Linked DNA regions of Homo sapiens: regions 2 and 3 are each linked to region 1. Evidence: promoter capture Hi-C in 16 types of primary human blood cells and fetal thymus (Javierre and others, 2016). All regions are on one chromosome and are shown on one strand. Each heading gives the region's core, a stretch centred on a gene start or on the middle of the fragment in contact. The rest is flanking DNA. Distances are from core to core; before and after follow the strand shown. Region 1 holds the start of JAG2 (jagged canonical Notch ligand 2). Region 2 overlaps AHNAK2 (AHNAK nucleoprotein 2). Region 3 has its middle 4.9 kb from the start of PACS2.

Region 1 (4,664 bases), core at 1,436-3,935:
CCTCCTGGGGCATTCGAGGAACCGGCTGGAAGCAAGAGGCAGGGAGGTGAGCTGGCCCCGAAACCCAGTGCCCGGACTCCAAGGAAGGCAAGGGCCTACCCGGTCCCATCCCACACCTGACCGGCTGGCCCGCGGGGCGAAGAGCCAGGGCGGACACGCGATAGCCCGCCACATTCCTCCAAGACCTCCCTGCCCCCACACCCACTGCTGCCAACTCGAGCAGAAAACACATCCTCAGGTAGCGATGTGGGGCCACGCTGGCTCAGGCCCAGGTGCAGATGACAGGCTGCGGGCCCTGCTCAGACCTGCCTGCTGCACCGCCGTGGGGGCGAGGGGCTGGGCTTCTCACAACTGCCTGGGCCCTCCCATGCCCGCCCCTGCCTTTTCCATCTGGGGGACACTTTCCCCTCTCTGGGGCCCCCCTGGTCAAGGGATACTCGGCGGGGTGCTCACGGGTTGAGGACATGGCCAGAGGAGACTGTGGCCAGCTTCCACGGGTGGGAGCTCAGGAAGCGGTGAGGATGGGGGCAGCAGGCAAGGCTGCCAGCCAGGGCTGCAAAGGTACAGCACAGGACTGGGAGCCACACACGGCAGGCCCAACTGGCGTGAGCTCGGCAGGGATTGCCCTCAACTCACAATCACTTCAGGGCCCAGGATACCAGGTGGGCACACTCCGGTGCCTCCTGCTGACTGGAGCCACTTCCTGGCTCCCAGATCCATCTACTCCCTGATCACAGGTCTGCATGGTGCTCTCATTCCCGCACTCACCCAGTTCCAGGCCCCCAGCACAATGACCAAGCAGGGAAGGACCTCTGGGCACCAGGGCAAGGCCGTGCTCCAGGCAATGAGGTAAGGCGCCCGAGGCCTGGGCCTGCCCACCTACCACTACCCACCTGCCAGCCCACTGGGATGAGTACCTGTTTCCCAGTGACACTGGACCCCTACCACCCCTCCTCCCAGCACGCCCAGGCCAGGGCTCCTGCCTGACTGGCCACCTGCCAGGGGAGACCAGACAGCCCCGACTCAGCTTCTGCCCCTCCAGAATAACAAAACCAAAAAAACCCACAAACAGGGCAGTGCCACAGAAGGTCACTGCACCAGGATCCACTATCTCTGTCTCTGAACGATCTTGGGTCACCATCGGGGGCTTCTGCCGACATAAGCGTTAGGCGTTAGGCTCTCCCGGGCCTAGGTCCCACGGCGCCCGCCCGTGCCCCCCAGGCATCCAGGAAACTGCAGGGCAGGCGCAGGCTGGCCACGGGCCCGGGGCGGCTCAGTCAGGGCCTGCCCTAGACCAGCCCCAGCACGCGCTGCGCACATGCCACCGCGGCCTGCCCGGGACCGGGGCGCCTCGCCTCGCCTCCCCACCCAGACAGACACGCGCAGGGCGACGCAGGCACACGCCGCACACCGCCGCGCACGCGGGACGCCGCCGCCCCGCCCCCGCCGCGACCCCGCTCCCGGTGGCCCCGGGGCCCCGGCGCGCCCACGTGGCCAGGCGCGGACCAAGTCCCCAGAGCACGCGCCCCCTGCCGGCCCCGCCCCGCCTGGGCGCGCGCGGCTCGCACGCAGACCCGGCCGCAGGTGTTGGGGGTCGCGAAGCGCGCGGGGCCGGGGCGCGGAGAGAGAGGGAAGGGCTGGAGCACGAGGGATGGAGCGCACGTACCGGCCAGGCGAACTGGAAGGGGATGACGACGAGGCCCGGGTCCTGGTCGCCGCCGGCCCGGGCCCGCGCCCGCGCTCGGTCCCCCGCAGCGCCCGCCGGCGGCAGGTAGAAGGAGTTGCCGCCCAGCACGGGCGTGGCGCCGTGGCCGTAGCTGCAGGGCCCCGTGGGCGTCACCTTGGCCTGGTACTCCTTAAGGCACACGCGCACGTACGTGTCGCACTCGTCGTGGCCGCAGCCCCCCGCGCGCGTTGTCCGGCCGTCGCCGTCACAGCAGGCGCCGCTCAGCAGCTCCCCGTTCACGTTCCGCAGCGCGCTCAGCTGCAGCTCGAAATAGCCCATGGGCCGCGCCGCCTAAAAATAAGGCAGCGGGAGAGCGGAGGGAGGCGCGGGCCGGGGTCGGCGGGCCGGGCGCCAGGGGTGGGGGAACAGGCCCCGCCGCCCCGCCCCCACCCAGCCGCGCCCGCCCGGAGCCCCAGCCGCCGCGCGCAGCCTCGAGGGCTTCCGAACCACGGCGGCCCCAGGCAGTGCCCGCCCGGCCCCTAGGGGCGGCCCGGTGTGCCCCGTCCGCGACCCCCGCCGCCCCCGCCGCCCCGCTCACCTGCACCCAGAGCGCCAGCAGCAGCAGCAGCCGCCGGGGAAGGCGCCCCCGGCCCTGCGCCCGCATTGCCCCCGCGACCCGCCCGCCCGGCCCCGCCGCCGCCGCCCGCGCCCGGCTCCCAGCCGCCGCGCCGGCCTCCCAGCGCCCGCCCGCCCTCCGAGCGCCCGCAGAGGCAGCGGCAGCGGCAGAGGCGGCGGCGGCGGCGGCGCGGGCGGGGTCGAGCGCAGCGCCGCGGCGCGCGGGCCTGGGCGGCGGGCGTGCAGGGGCGGCGGCAGCTCCGGCTCGCTGGCGGCCGCGCTCCGGCTGCCCGGCCCGGCTCCCACCCGGCGGCGACGGCGGCGGCGGTGAAGGCAGCGGGTCCCGGCCTCGGCTCTGCGCGCCCGCGCTCCCGGCACCGCAGCCAACAAGTTCGGAACGAGACTGACAGCTCGCTCGCCCATTCGTCACCCGCGCACCTGCATATGCATGAGGGGGCGGGGCCGCGCCGCGGGGTGGGGCCGGGGGGGGGTCCGGGGGCGCCCCAGGCTTTAAAGGCGGTGGAGGGCGTCGCCTGCCAGCGCCCCGGCCCGGCGCGCGCCCCCCAGGGCGCCCGGGCGGCGGGGGCACGGGGCCTCGGGGTCAGCGCGGGCCGCGGGGGCCCCGCTCACACCTCCGCGTGAGTCGGCGAGGCGTGCGCCGGCGCCGCAAAGCTGCCTCCCCTCCTCCGCCTGGGCTCCTGCCGGGTGTCAGAAACCGGGGGTGGGGCGCCCCGAGGTTGCCGTGTGGTCCCCTCCCATCAGTGCGCCACCGCCGCGCTCCTCGCAGTCCCAGAGGAGATGCCGCCTCCTACTCTGATCAGGGCTCGGCCCCCACGCGGGGTGGCGCGGCCCTGGGGCCAGAGCCGGGCCCAGCCCCTACTGCGCGCCCCCCACCTCCTCCGAGAATCTCCCCTTCTCCGCGCCGCTCCTACCGCCTCCACGCCGGCTGCAGGGGGCGCTGCGCCCCTCCGACGCCCCTGCCTTCCCCTCTGCGAGGCGCGCTGGTCAAGCAGCCAGTCAACAAATGCTCCAGGGTGCAGACTGCTCAGCTCGGCGCTGGCGTCGAGGTAGCCAGGCCATGCCCTCAGGAAATGCTCAGGCCACATTCCCCGTTTCCCGCCTCTCGCCCCCCAAACTCAGGTCTGGGCTTGGGGGGCGAGAGGCGGGAAATGGGGAACAAAAGTCGGCAGTGCCTGTCCCTGAAGGCTACCCCGAGAGAGGCCTCCCACTGCTGCCCTGGTCACCAGGCTTCCACACCCCATCCTCTGCGGTCACCTCCTTGCCCTCTCCCTGGGTGACCTCGCAGCTCCTCCACAGGGTCAAAACCAATGGCACCTTCCTCTCCTCCAGTGAGCACGGTCCTTTCCAGAGCTAGGGGTCACCTTGGTGGTTAAAGATCCCCATATGGTCCAGAGGGGTCCTCAACCCATCCCCATGATAACTGAGCTGTCTTCTCTCCCCCTAGCTCCTCTCGCAAATTTGCCCTGTGCCCGGAGCTGGGTGGCTGTGCAGCCCCCCAGCCTGGAGCAAGTCACTGCCACCATGCTGCTGGGGCTGAGGGCTGAAGGAAGAGAGCTTTGGAGGCACAGGGCCTGTGAACACCCCATGCGCAGGGTCTGCCTGCTCCATCCCTGTTTAGCAGCTCCTCCAGGATCCAGGCCGCAGGCTCAGCTGAAGGTCCCTAAAGGGGTGGGTGGGAGCCCCCCATGCCCACCTCAGCTGGCTCTGCTCAGAGTGCCCACCCCAAACTTGGTGGTGGGTAGGCTTCGTGGGGATTAAGACACAAGCCAGGATGAGGCCCGCACAGAGACCCCCACCAAACAAGAGAATCCAAGCTGTGTTCAGAGCCTTCCAGTTGCCGCCTTCCGGTGTGTGGGCGGTGATTACCGCCTACGGGGGGAGGGGCTCCCTGTGGAGATGCCACCTCTCCTGTGCTTTGGCCTGGGGGCAGGTACTCGGGTACTCGAGAGAGGGAAGCCCCAGGACAGAGAAGCCCCCTGCCCGGCTCCAGAGGCCCAGGGCTCCATCCCCACCTGCGCCCACTGCCCCACTATGGTGGGGGAGGGGGTGCTGGGTGCCTCTGCTGGGCACTTGGCCAAGTGGTGAACAAGGGAGACTCCGCCCCTGCACACCCTCAGGAGCCCCCAGCCCGGGGGTGGACAGAGGACTTAGACAAGTCATACAGAAGCTGGCATAGGGGGCCGCCAGAGCGTGGACGGGCATGGGTCAGCCAGACCTCACGATGTCCATGAGAGCACCCAGGTCAGGAAGGTGGCCGCACCTGCCCTTAGGAAGGAGGGGGACATAGGAGGCATCGGAGAGGGGGTCCCTTCCCTGCAGGAATTTCAGCAGCCCTTGAGCCAGAAATGCCAGGCAGCTGGAC
Region 2 (4,664 bases), core at 1,592-4,091, 230 kb before region 1:
ACCACCCAAATGTTCCTCATTGACTGTTCTCTAGAGCTGCTTAGTAGAGACCAGGAGTGTGTGGGAGGAAAGCCCTGGTAAACTTCGACCCTGAGACAGAAGACCTCAGCAGCCTTCAGCATGGGATGCAGCACTTTCTTTATTGCCCATCCAGGGAACAGCCAAGCCAGCTCCATCTGCATTCTGGCTGCAGCGTGTACATTAGGGGACTCAGGGGCCACAGTGTGGGACCGTGCACACTGGCAAGGCACTGGCGGATGCTGGCAGGCCAGTGGACATGGATAGATGAGAATGACAACTCACAGATGTCCTAGCTTCTGCTGGCCCAGCTGCCAGCCACTGGCCATCACCCTTTTGCCCAGCATGTGTGCATTGTCACCCAAAACATCTTGAAACTTGCCATTAGTGAGGCATTCAACAAAGAAGTAAGCTAAGTGAGTAGGAAACAGTGTTTCCTGGAATATACCGCACTCTGCCTGAAATAGGAAAACTATGTTTGCCGGGAAGCAGCAGCAGCAGGAAAGAAGTTATACCAAAAACGACTTGTACACCACAGACATTATAACCCTTTCCTCAAAGAAACAGTCATGTTCTGTTGGGTATTATGGACAGGTCTCTGGAAATTTATCTAATAAAGACCAACAAACTTCCCCAGCAGTGCCTCTGAGTACCGTGTGAATTCTGGTGTCTTGTGGAAGTCAGGGTGCCTTCTTTGCATCCAAAGCTTTGAGGGAGCTGGGAAGCTTTGGTTCCATTTTAGGAGGGCTGTGTGATGGTGACAAAGGTGTTCTGGTCATTTCTGCTCTGTTCTCCGTTCTGTGAAGTGAGGTGGATGTAATGTGCTGTGGGATGGGGTGCTCCATATGTGTGTGTAGCCTTTACTTTCCAACTTAGTTTTTTGCATCTCTCTTGTACTGATGAGCCATACCTCTCAGCCTTCATTTGGTCCCAGGCCTGACCCTTTGCTTTCATCGTCAGCTTTTCTGTCCTGCTCGGGCAGGATTAACTCTGTTCTTGCCGCGGATGTCACCATCACTCTGGAGTCCAGCCCAGTGCCCACAGGCCCGATCAGTTCACCCTCTTCCTTCTCTTCAGGGGAGAAACTTTCTCGGGCATCAAAAAACGTGATTGTTTCTTCTTGAAGTTTTTGTTCTTCCAGCTCTGCCCCATCTTCGGTGCTTTTGCTTTTCTTGGTAGGAGATGAGGAGAACCCTAATTTGGGAAATCGGAACCAGCCTGCCTTCTCCTGTTTTTTAGGCAGTTCTGCCTCTGGTCGTGCCTCAGGCTGTGTTTGAATGGGAGCAGATCTCTGGACGTCATTTTTGGAATCAACACCTGTCTCATCAACAGAAGAGGAAAACCCAATGTTTGGAAGCCAAAACCAGAGCAGACCAGATTTTTTACTTTCTGGTTTGTCTTTTGGAGCCCTGCCTTCATCTGCCAGTGGTGTGGTTGCCTCTTGGCTATCATCAGGGGGAAACTCAAGAATTTCTGCTGGCTCCTCATCTGAACAGCTGTCTGCAAGCTGGTGGCCAGAAGGAACTTCAAATGTGAGTGTTTGCTGTCCCAGTACATTGACGCTGGAAGAGATCATCTCAAATGGTTCTCCAGTGTCAGGCTGGAGATCTCCAGAAATGGAGTCTACTCCTGGGGTGGCTTGTATGGGAGCCTCTTCTGTGCCCTCCTGAGTCCTAGAGTGTTGAGTCATTGTTGTGTACACTCTAGCCTGCGTGTGGGGCTCTGGGATTTTCACTTTTAATAAGGAAAATCCGTACGAAGGTGTTTGAATCTCTGACGTGGGGATCTCTGATTCCCGCACAATCTGAGTGGAAAAAGTCCTGGGTACTGAGAGATCTACAAACTCTGGTGTCACTATGCTGTGTATAGTGACCTCTTGACTTTCAACCTGAGCACCCTGAATATGCACTCTGACCTTTGAAATTGGGGGAGCTTCCAAAGGCAGGTTAAGGTCCACAGGCTGCTCCCCAGGGACCCCAGCACCTGCCTTCAGGATGCTGGCTCCCCAGAGCCCCGGACTTTCCTTACAAAGGGCTGTATCAATATTGGCCTCTGGACACTGCACTTCCCTCACAGTGGGGATGAACACATCATCCTCTGAGCTGGGGGCAGGGAAGGAGAACCTTGGTACCATTAATTTGGGGAATTTGACAGTTAGGACAGAATCTTCCCACAGTTGATCCACATTAACCACAGAAATCTGGGATGGCATATCAGTACTTGAAGCTTTCAATTTAAGTGGACCTTCAGGCTGGGAAGACCATTTCTCTGTTTTATCCTCCATGCTGGCAAGGTCATGTCCTGGCTTGGAAAGAGGAGTCTCATCTATTTCTCCTGGAAGAACCTGGGTTTCTGGAAGCCTCATGCCAGGCATCTGAAAAGGGAGAGGTCCTTTGGATGGATGGATCCTGACCTCAGAAGTGGAAAGCTCATCCCCAGTCATCCCAGCAGTGGAGAGGTGCAGCTTCAAGCCTGTGCTGTCAAGATCACACCTTAGAATATCTGTGGATGATTTGCTCTCAGAAGCTGTCACTTCTGCATCTGCCTCTGGGAGCTGTAGGGACATAGCTGCCTCCACGTTTGACCCAGAAACAAGGAACTCTTTGACTTTAGCTGCTGCTTCACCCCCTGTTGCTGCCGGTGCCTGTGTCTGAGCCACTTCCAGCTTTCCAGCCCCGCCTCTGTCCCTGAAAGAGCGCCTAAGGCTGGGCATGCGGAACTTGGGCATTTTAAACCAGCTTTCCTGCGAGTACTTGGTCATGGCTTCCTCCTCTGGGCTTTCCACTGTGAGGACTTCAGCATCTGGTTTTCTACAGGATGGCTGGAGGGGATCTTCAGGTGTGGGGGCTATCCCCTCCCCACAAGGCTGGCTCACTGGGACATCCCCGAGCCCACATCCTCTGCTGTCACCTTCGGTAGACAGATCATGTTTGGGAAGAGGCAGGTCAGCTTCAGGCTGGCTCACCTCCACCTTGGCCTTGGAGGATCTGAGATCAGGTTTGGCAAAGCCCAAACTGGGAATGTGGACCTGTGGCCGGTGGAGGTTCACACCCTCACTTCCTGTGGCACTTGCTGTTGCACCAAGTCCTCCCCTACCACCGTCACTGCTGGCCTTTTCTGTGTCTTGAAAGCTACCCCCTGCTGTGGCACTAGAAAGGGAAGGATCCACGTCTCTCTGTGGCAGGCTGACCCCACTCTTAGAAGCCTTCATTTTGGGAAGTGCAAGTTTTGGCATGGCAAAGCCAGGCTTTGTGCTCCTCCCCTTCTCTCCATCCCTCTCAGGAGGCAGATCCATGTGGATGGCAGACTGCGGGGCCACTTCATCCTTGTCTAAAACCAGGCTGAGTTTTGAGTCCTCCACGCTGCATTCTGGGTCCACCTTTGGCCCTGTTTCCTTCTTCGGGGACCACCTAAATGATGGAAGCTTAATCTTAGGCATTTTCAAGGGACTCCCTTTCCCTTCGTGGTCAGCATCTTCAGAAGGGGCTTCTCCAGGGGCCACTACTGATGTCTGCAAGGAGGCCACAAGCTCTTCTGGGCCCTGAGACACACAGGTGCCTGGGGATGGCAGCTGGGTGCTTGGCAAGGGGCACTGCACTCTTTCTCCAGGGCTAAGAGGAGACATGACTGGGGCACCCACTGCTGCATGTAGGTCTCCCTCAGGAACTGCCATTTGGGGGACTGAAAACACAAACTTTGGTTTATAGAATTTAGGAAAAGATACCTGACCAAGAGAAACAGGAATCATGGAATTCAGTGGGCCAGAGTGACTCTCAGCTTGAGATGTTGGAACTCCCTCTGGAGGCTGCAGGTCAGTGGAGCACTCTGTCTTGGGAAGAGGAATATCAGCCTGAGACCCAGAAGGAATTTCCAGAGCAAGCTCAGGGGCCAAGGCAGCTCTGGGAACAGTCACCTGGTATTTTGTAAGTGTAACATCCTCACAGGGAGAGAGAATAGAAGATTCAAAGTGAGGACCAGTGAGATCAAGCCGGGATGATGGAAACCCAGCAAAACCCACCTTAGGCATCTGCATGGATGGCTCTGAACAAGCCGAAACCTGTTGTAATTCAAAACTTGAGCATTCTGAAGATGATAAAGGAATCGTGGAAAGACCTATGCTAGACTTTGCACCTGGGACTAAACTATCTTTAGGAGTTTTGGTAGAAGAAAATGAAACTTTGGGCACTTTAAAATGCAGTTTCTTAAACTTCGAATCCATTCCAACTTCTCCAACAGCAAGCCCCAAGTTACCATCGCGAGATGGATCATGAAGATCACCTTCATGAACAACAGATTCCACAATGGGAAATGTGGAAGTCTTCTCATGGAATGTAACATTTCCTTCGATTTCAGAGGAAGACATGGAAACTTTCTTTGACGACCATTCAAAACCAGACGTGCTCAGTTTTGGTCCTTGAAACTTACTGTCTTTCCCAGCTACATCCTCGTGGGCCAGGGACAGGTCCCCCTCAAGCCGCGCACCATCCAGCATGGATCCTGGGGCCTGGACATCCGTCTCCACGCTGGGCAGAGACACCTCCACATCGGGGGCCATCACCTCTGCCTTTGGGCCTTTCAGGTCCAGCTTGGGGCCCTTGACGTCCACCTGGGGGCCCTTGAGGTCCACTTTGGGCATCTTGAAACTG
Region 3 (4,664 bases), core at 1,210-3,709, 140 kb after region 1:
ACTCCTCTTTCAAAGGCGGTTGTCTCTGTGTCTGTCATCTTATCACATTTGATCAAAATAACTCCTGGGTACTCAATAGCCCTGTCCCCCCATGCAGCAGTCAGCAGGGGAAATGAGAAAGCAAGCTTCTATGGCCTTCTCACCTTCTCACCTGCTGCCTGGCCTTGGGCAAGTGCTTCAATCTCTCTAGGTTTCTACTTCCTCATCTGCATAACAGGGATAAGAATAGCCCACCCTAGCACTGCGGAGTATGATGGAGGACATGTGTCTGGTAGACAGACTGCTCAGAAGGCAAGTCCCTGTTCCTGTCTGTTCTCCGCAACTCGAGTGAGACTTGGTGAGGCTCCAGTCCACCTTCCACCACAGAAGTCAAGGGCCAGGCCAGGACAGTGGCTCACGCCTGTCATCCCAGCACTTTGGGAGGCAGAGGTGGGAGGATAGCTTGAGCCCAGGAGTTCGAGACCAGCCTGGGCAACAAAGTGAGATCCCTGTCTCTACAAAAAATTTAAAAATTAGCTGTGCGTGGTGGTGCGTGCCTCTAGTTCAGCTACTTGGGAGGCTGAGGCAGGAGAATCGCTTGAACCCAGGTGACTGAGGCTGCAGTGAGTTATGATCACACCACAGCACTCCAGCCTGGACCATAGAGTGAGACTCTGTCCCCCCCAAAAAAACAATTAGGCCGGGCACAGTGGCTCACACCTGTTATCCCAGCACTTTGGGAGGCTGAGGTGAGAGGATTGATTGAGCCCAGGTGTTTGAGACCAGCCTGGGAAATATGGCAAAACAGCATCTCTAACAAAAATACAAAAATTAGCCAGGTGTGGTGGTACATGCCTGTGGTCCCAGCTACTCGGGAGGCTGAAGAGGGAGGATTGCCTGAGCCCAGGAGACAGAAGTTGCAGTGAGCTGAGATGGCACCATTGTACTCCAGCCTGGGCACGACAGAGGCAGATTCTGTCTTTTTTTTTTTTTTTTTTTGAGATGGAGTCTTGCTCTGTCGTCCGGGCTGGAGTGCAGTGGTGCAATCTTGGCTCACTGCAACCTCCGCCTCCTGGGTTCAAGTGATTCTCCTGCCTCAGCCTTCTGAGTAGCTGGGATTACAGGTATGAGCCACTGTGCCCAGCTAAGTTTTGCAGTTTTAGTAGAGACAGGGTTTCACCATGTTGGCCAGGCTGGTCTGGAACTCCTGACTTCATGATCCGCCTGCCTCAGCCCCCCAAAGTGCTGGGATTACAGGCATGAGCCACTGTGCCCAGCCATGACTTTGTCTCTAAATAAATAAATAATTTTTTAAAACCCTTAGGGACCCAGCACAGTGGTTCACACTTGTAATCCCAGCACTTTGAGAGGCTGAGGCAGGAGGATGGTTTGAGTCCAGGAGATCTGGCCTACAGTGAGCCATGATGGCACCACTGCACTCCAGCCTGGTTGACAGAGCAAGACCCTGTCAAGAAAACAAAAGAAAAAAAAAGAAAAAGACAAACAAAACCTAACAAAACCAGAAATCCATCCTGCACGAAGAGCACTGAGGTTGAGTGTTGGTTGACACGTGTTGCGGTAATTGCTGTTCTGATGTCTGTGAATGTCCTTGGCTGATTTCTGTATTAGGGCCTGGGTGTTTTCCTTTCTTTTCTAATATTTAAGTTATGTCCTGGCTTATTGTGATGATATTCTATTGTGGGAAAGAAAGAAGTGTTAAAATTTATGCATCAAGGTCCCTCTTAATCTTGGGGCTCAGGATAACCACAGTCAAGAGGGGAGAGTTTTATTCCTGAATCCAGGTCATGCTGTGTTCAACTTTACACCCTGATTTGTCACACAATCACATATCTGAGAATTTCCCCATGTTGCTAAAACTGAGGCAGCGTTCCGTTTTGCTGGTTATTCCACATCCCATGGGGTGGATGTGCCAGGGCAAGTTTTGTCATTTCCCCTGGACTGGACATTCCTTTCTGTAGGTGTTGCTGTTTGAAATATCTCACACACCTGGACCTGTGTCCCTGTTGACATTTCCAGTGTCACCTGCAGGATGCCATGGGATACCCATGAGCCCAGGCAAATCTCCCAAGACGCTGCCAAGCCACTCTGCAGAGCTGCTCTGGGTCCTGCCCCAGGTGCTGTGTGAGGGAGCTGCGCTGCCTGCGCCCAACCCAGGAGGGGAGCAGCGTGCAGGACACCGAGGATGTCATCACGACCTTAGGTCTGTATTAGGTCTAGATTAGCCTGCATTAAGGAGAAGGTGGTGATGTGTGTCTTTTTTTTTTTTTTTTTTTTTTTTTTTTAGACGGAGTCTCACTCTCTTGCCCAGGCAGGAGTGCAGTGGCACAATCTCGGCTCACTGCAAGCTCCGCCTCCTGGATTCAAGCAATTCTCCTGTCTCAGCCTCCCGACTAGCTGGGACTACAGGCGCCCGCCACCACACCCGACTAATTTTTGTATTTTTAGTAGAGACGGGGTTTCAGTGTATTGGTCAGGCTAGTTTTGAACTCCTGACCTGGAGATCCACCCGCCTCGGCCTCCCAAAGTGCTGGGATTACAGGTATGAGCCACCGCACCCAGCCATGTGCATCTTTTTATAATTTACAATTCGTGATAGTAGTGACAACTGTCTCACTTATTCTTTTGTGAATCTTTTGTAGCTTCTCTAACCATTTTCCACTGGGAATTTTTTAGTGGTCTTATGGACTTGTATGATTTCCTTTGATATTAAGAATGTTACCCTAGTGAGCCAGGCACAGTGGCTCACGCCTGTAATCCCAGCACTTTGGGAGGTCGAGGCGGGCGGATCATGAGGTCAGGAGATCAAGACCATCCTGGCTAACACGGTGAAACCCCGTCTCTAATAAAAATACAAAAAATTAGCCAGGCGTGGTGGCAGGCGCCTGTAGTCCCCCCTACTCAGGAGGCTGAGGCAGGAGAATGGCATGAACCCGGGAGGCAGAGCTTGCAGTGAGCTGAGATGGCACCACTGCACTCCAGCCTGGGCGACAGACAGAGCGAGACTCTGTCTCAAAAAAAAAAAAAAAAAAAAAAGAATGTTACCCTAGTGAAACATTCAGTATTCTTACAAAGATCATCCTCAATAGTTTGTTGCGTTGGGTGAGGGTTCCCTTTGCACGTTTGGTTTTTTCAGGACGGGGCGCAGCCCCAGCCAGATGGCGCCCGGCTCTCCAGCCAGCGGCAGCTCACCCTGCTGTGGTTTGATTTTCCCTACACAATTAATACATGTTCATCATGGAGAAAATAGGAGATAAAGATAAGCAAAAAGGAGAAACCAAATCAATGGAATCCCCATCACACAGAGATACTTTCTTAACACTTTGGATTAATTTGTATCCTATCAATATTTTTCTATACCTGAAAATAGGTGTTTTATATGTATAATCACTAACATGTAAATACATACTGCACATGGACATGCATTTTCACATACATTTTTGTTTTCTTGAGACAGAGTTTCACTCTTGTCACCCAGGCTGGAGTGCAGTGGCACAATCTTGGCTCAATGGAACCTCTGCCTGCTGGGTTCAAGCGATTCTCCTGCCTCAGCCTCCCGAGTAGCTGGGATTACAGGCGCGCACCATCATGCCCCACTAATTTTTTGTATTTTTAGTAGAGATGGGGTTTCACTATGTTGGCCAGGATGGTCACAAACTCCTGACCTCAGGTGATCCACCCACTTCGGCCTCCCAAAGTGCTAAGATTACAGGCATGAGCCACTGTGCCCGGCCTTTTTATTTTTATTTTTTGAGATGGAGCCTGGCTCTGTCCCCCAGACTGGAGTGCAGTGGTGTGATCCTGGTTCACTGCAACCTCCACCTCCTGGGTTCAAGTGATTCTCCCACCTCAGCTTCCCAAGTCACTGGGATCACAGATGCGCACCACCATGCCCAGGTACGTTTTTGTATTTTTGTTAGAGATGGGACTTTGCCATATTGCCCAAGCTGGTCTTGAACTCCTGAGGTCACGGGATCTGTGCGCTTTGGCCTCCCAAAGTGCTGGGATTACAGGTGTGAGCCCCTGCGACTGGCCTGTTTTTAGCTACTTTTAACTCACTATTTCTGCCAGCTGTAGAATATTCTATCAGGTTCTATCATGGCTCACCTAACCCTGTTCTACTCTACAACCCCGGGGTTGATTCCAGGCCTCACTCTCAGCAGTTGAGCTGCTCTAAGGGTGACCGTGGGAACTGTCCACAGGTGCGGCTGCGGGTGCAGCGATCTCAGCGGTCTTAGAGCTCTTGGCCATCCCCCACATGGCTTCCCAGAAAATGCCTCCAGGAGGAGGGCCCTGCTGTACCTTTTTTGTGACCATTCCTCCTCAGCCTCAGTCATGGCCATGTGCTCCAACCATGGGAGTGGATGCGGCAGGGCCTGTCTAGGGGTTCGGCAGTTCTGTCCCTCTGCCATAGCATGGGCTGGGCAGGGACCTGGCCACGTGGGGCTGCTTCCTCAGCCCAGCTCCTGGCAGGAGAAGGAGTAGGGGCGCTGTGGGCTGGAGCCGCCAACTGACCAGTGCTGGCCCTGGAGGAGGCCCCTCCCCCACTCCCCGACTTCAGCAGGGCCTGCTGTGTGTCTGTGTCATCTTAGCCCAGGCTGAGGAGATGAATGCGTTTCCAAGCAGCCCATGGTCCTGGCGCCCGACTGGAAAAGCCTGAGCCTTCA

The links. Contacts are between HindIII fragments. The CHiCAGO score rates a contact against its expected background, and 5 or more counts as called.
Region 2: a fragment that was not itself captured here is called in contact with the fragment with the promoter of JAG2 in region 1 in 1 of 17 cell types (naive CD4 T cells); the score reaches 5.1 in naive CD4 T cells.
Region 3: a fragment that was not itself captured here is called in contact with the fragment with the promoter of JAG2 in region 1 in 2 of 17 cell types (endothelial precursors and naive CD4 T cells); the score reaches 6.5 in endothelial precursors.

What each region holds. Positions count from the first base shown.
Region 1 is chr14:105,166,091-105,170,754 of GRCh38, forward strand. JAG2 (jagged canonical Notch ligand 2) reads right to left here and starts at 2,686. Exons shown (of 26, transcript NM_002226.5): 1 at 2,265-2,686; 2 at 1,667-2,017. The coding sequence starts at 2,330. RefSeq lists enhancers at 1,408-1,907, 4,556-4,664. The HindIII fragment of the contact is 17,945 bases long and covers 1-4,664 here.
Region 2 is chr14:104,937,132-104,941,795 of GRCh38, forward strand. AHNAK2 (AHNAK nucleoprotein 2) reads right to left here. Exons shown (of 7, transcript NM_138420.4): 7 at 122-4,664. The coding sequence ends at 932. It also overlaps a transcript of PLD4 not described here. Among named protein-coding and RNA genes, the nearest start is that of PLD4, 15 kb to the left of the region's middle. RefSeq lists an enhancer at 2,364-2,864. The HindIII fragment of the contact is 1,198 bases long and covers 2,243-3,440 here.
Region 3 is chr14:105,307,523-105,312,186 of GRCh38, forward strand. It overlaps a transcript of BRF1 not described here, the pseudogene LOC124903409 and a transcript of PACS2 not described here. Among named protein-coding and RNA genes, the nearest start is that of PACS2, 4.9 kb to the right of the region's middle. RefSeq lists a silencer at 4,587-4,664. The HindIII fragment of the contact is 4,673 bases long and covers 124-4,664 here.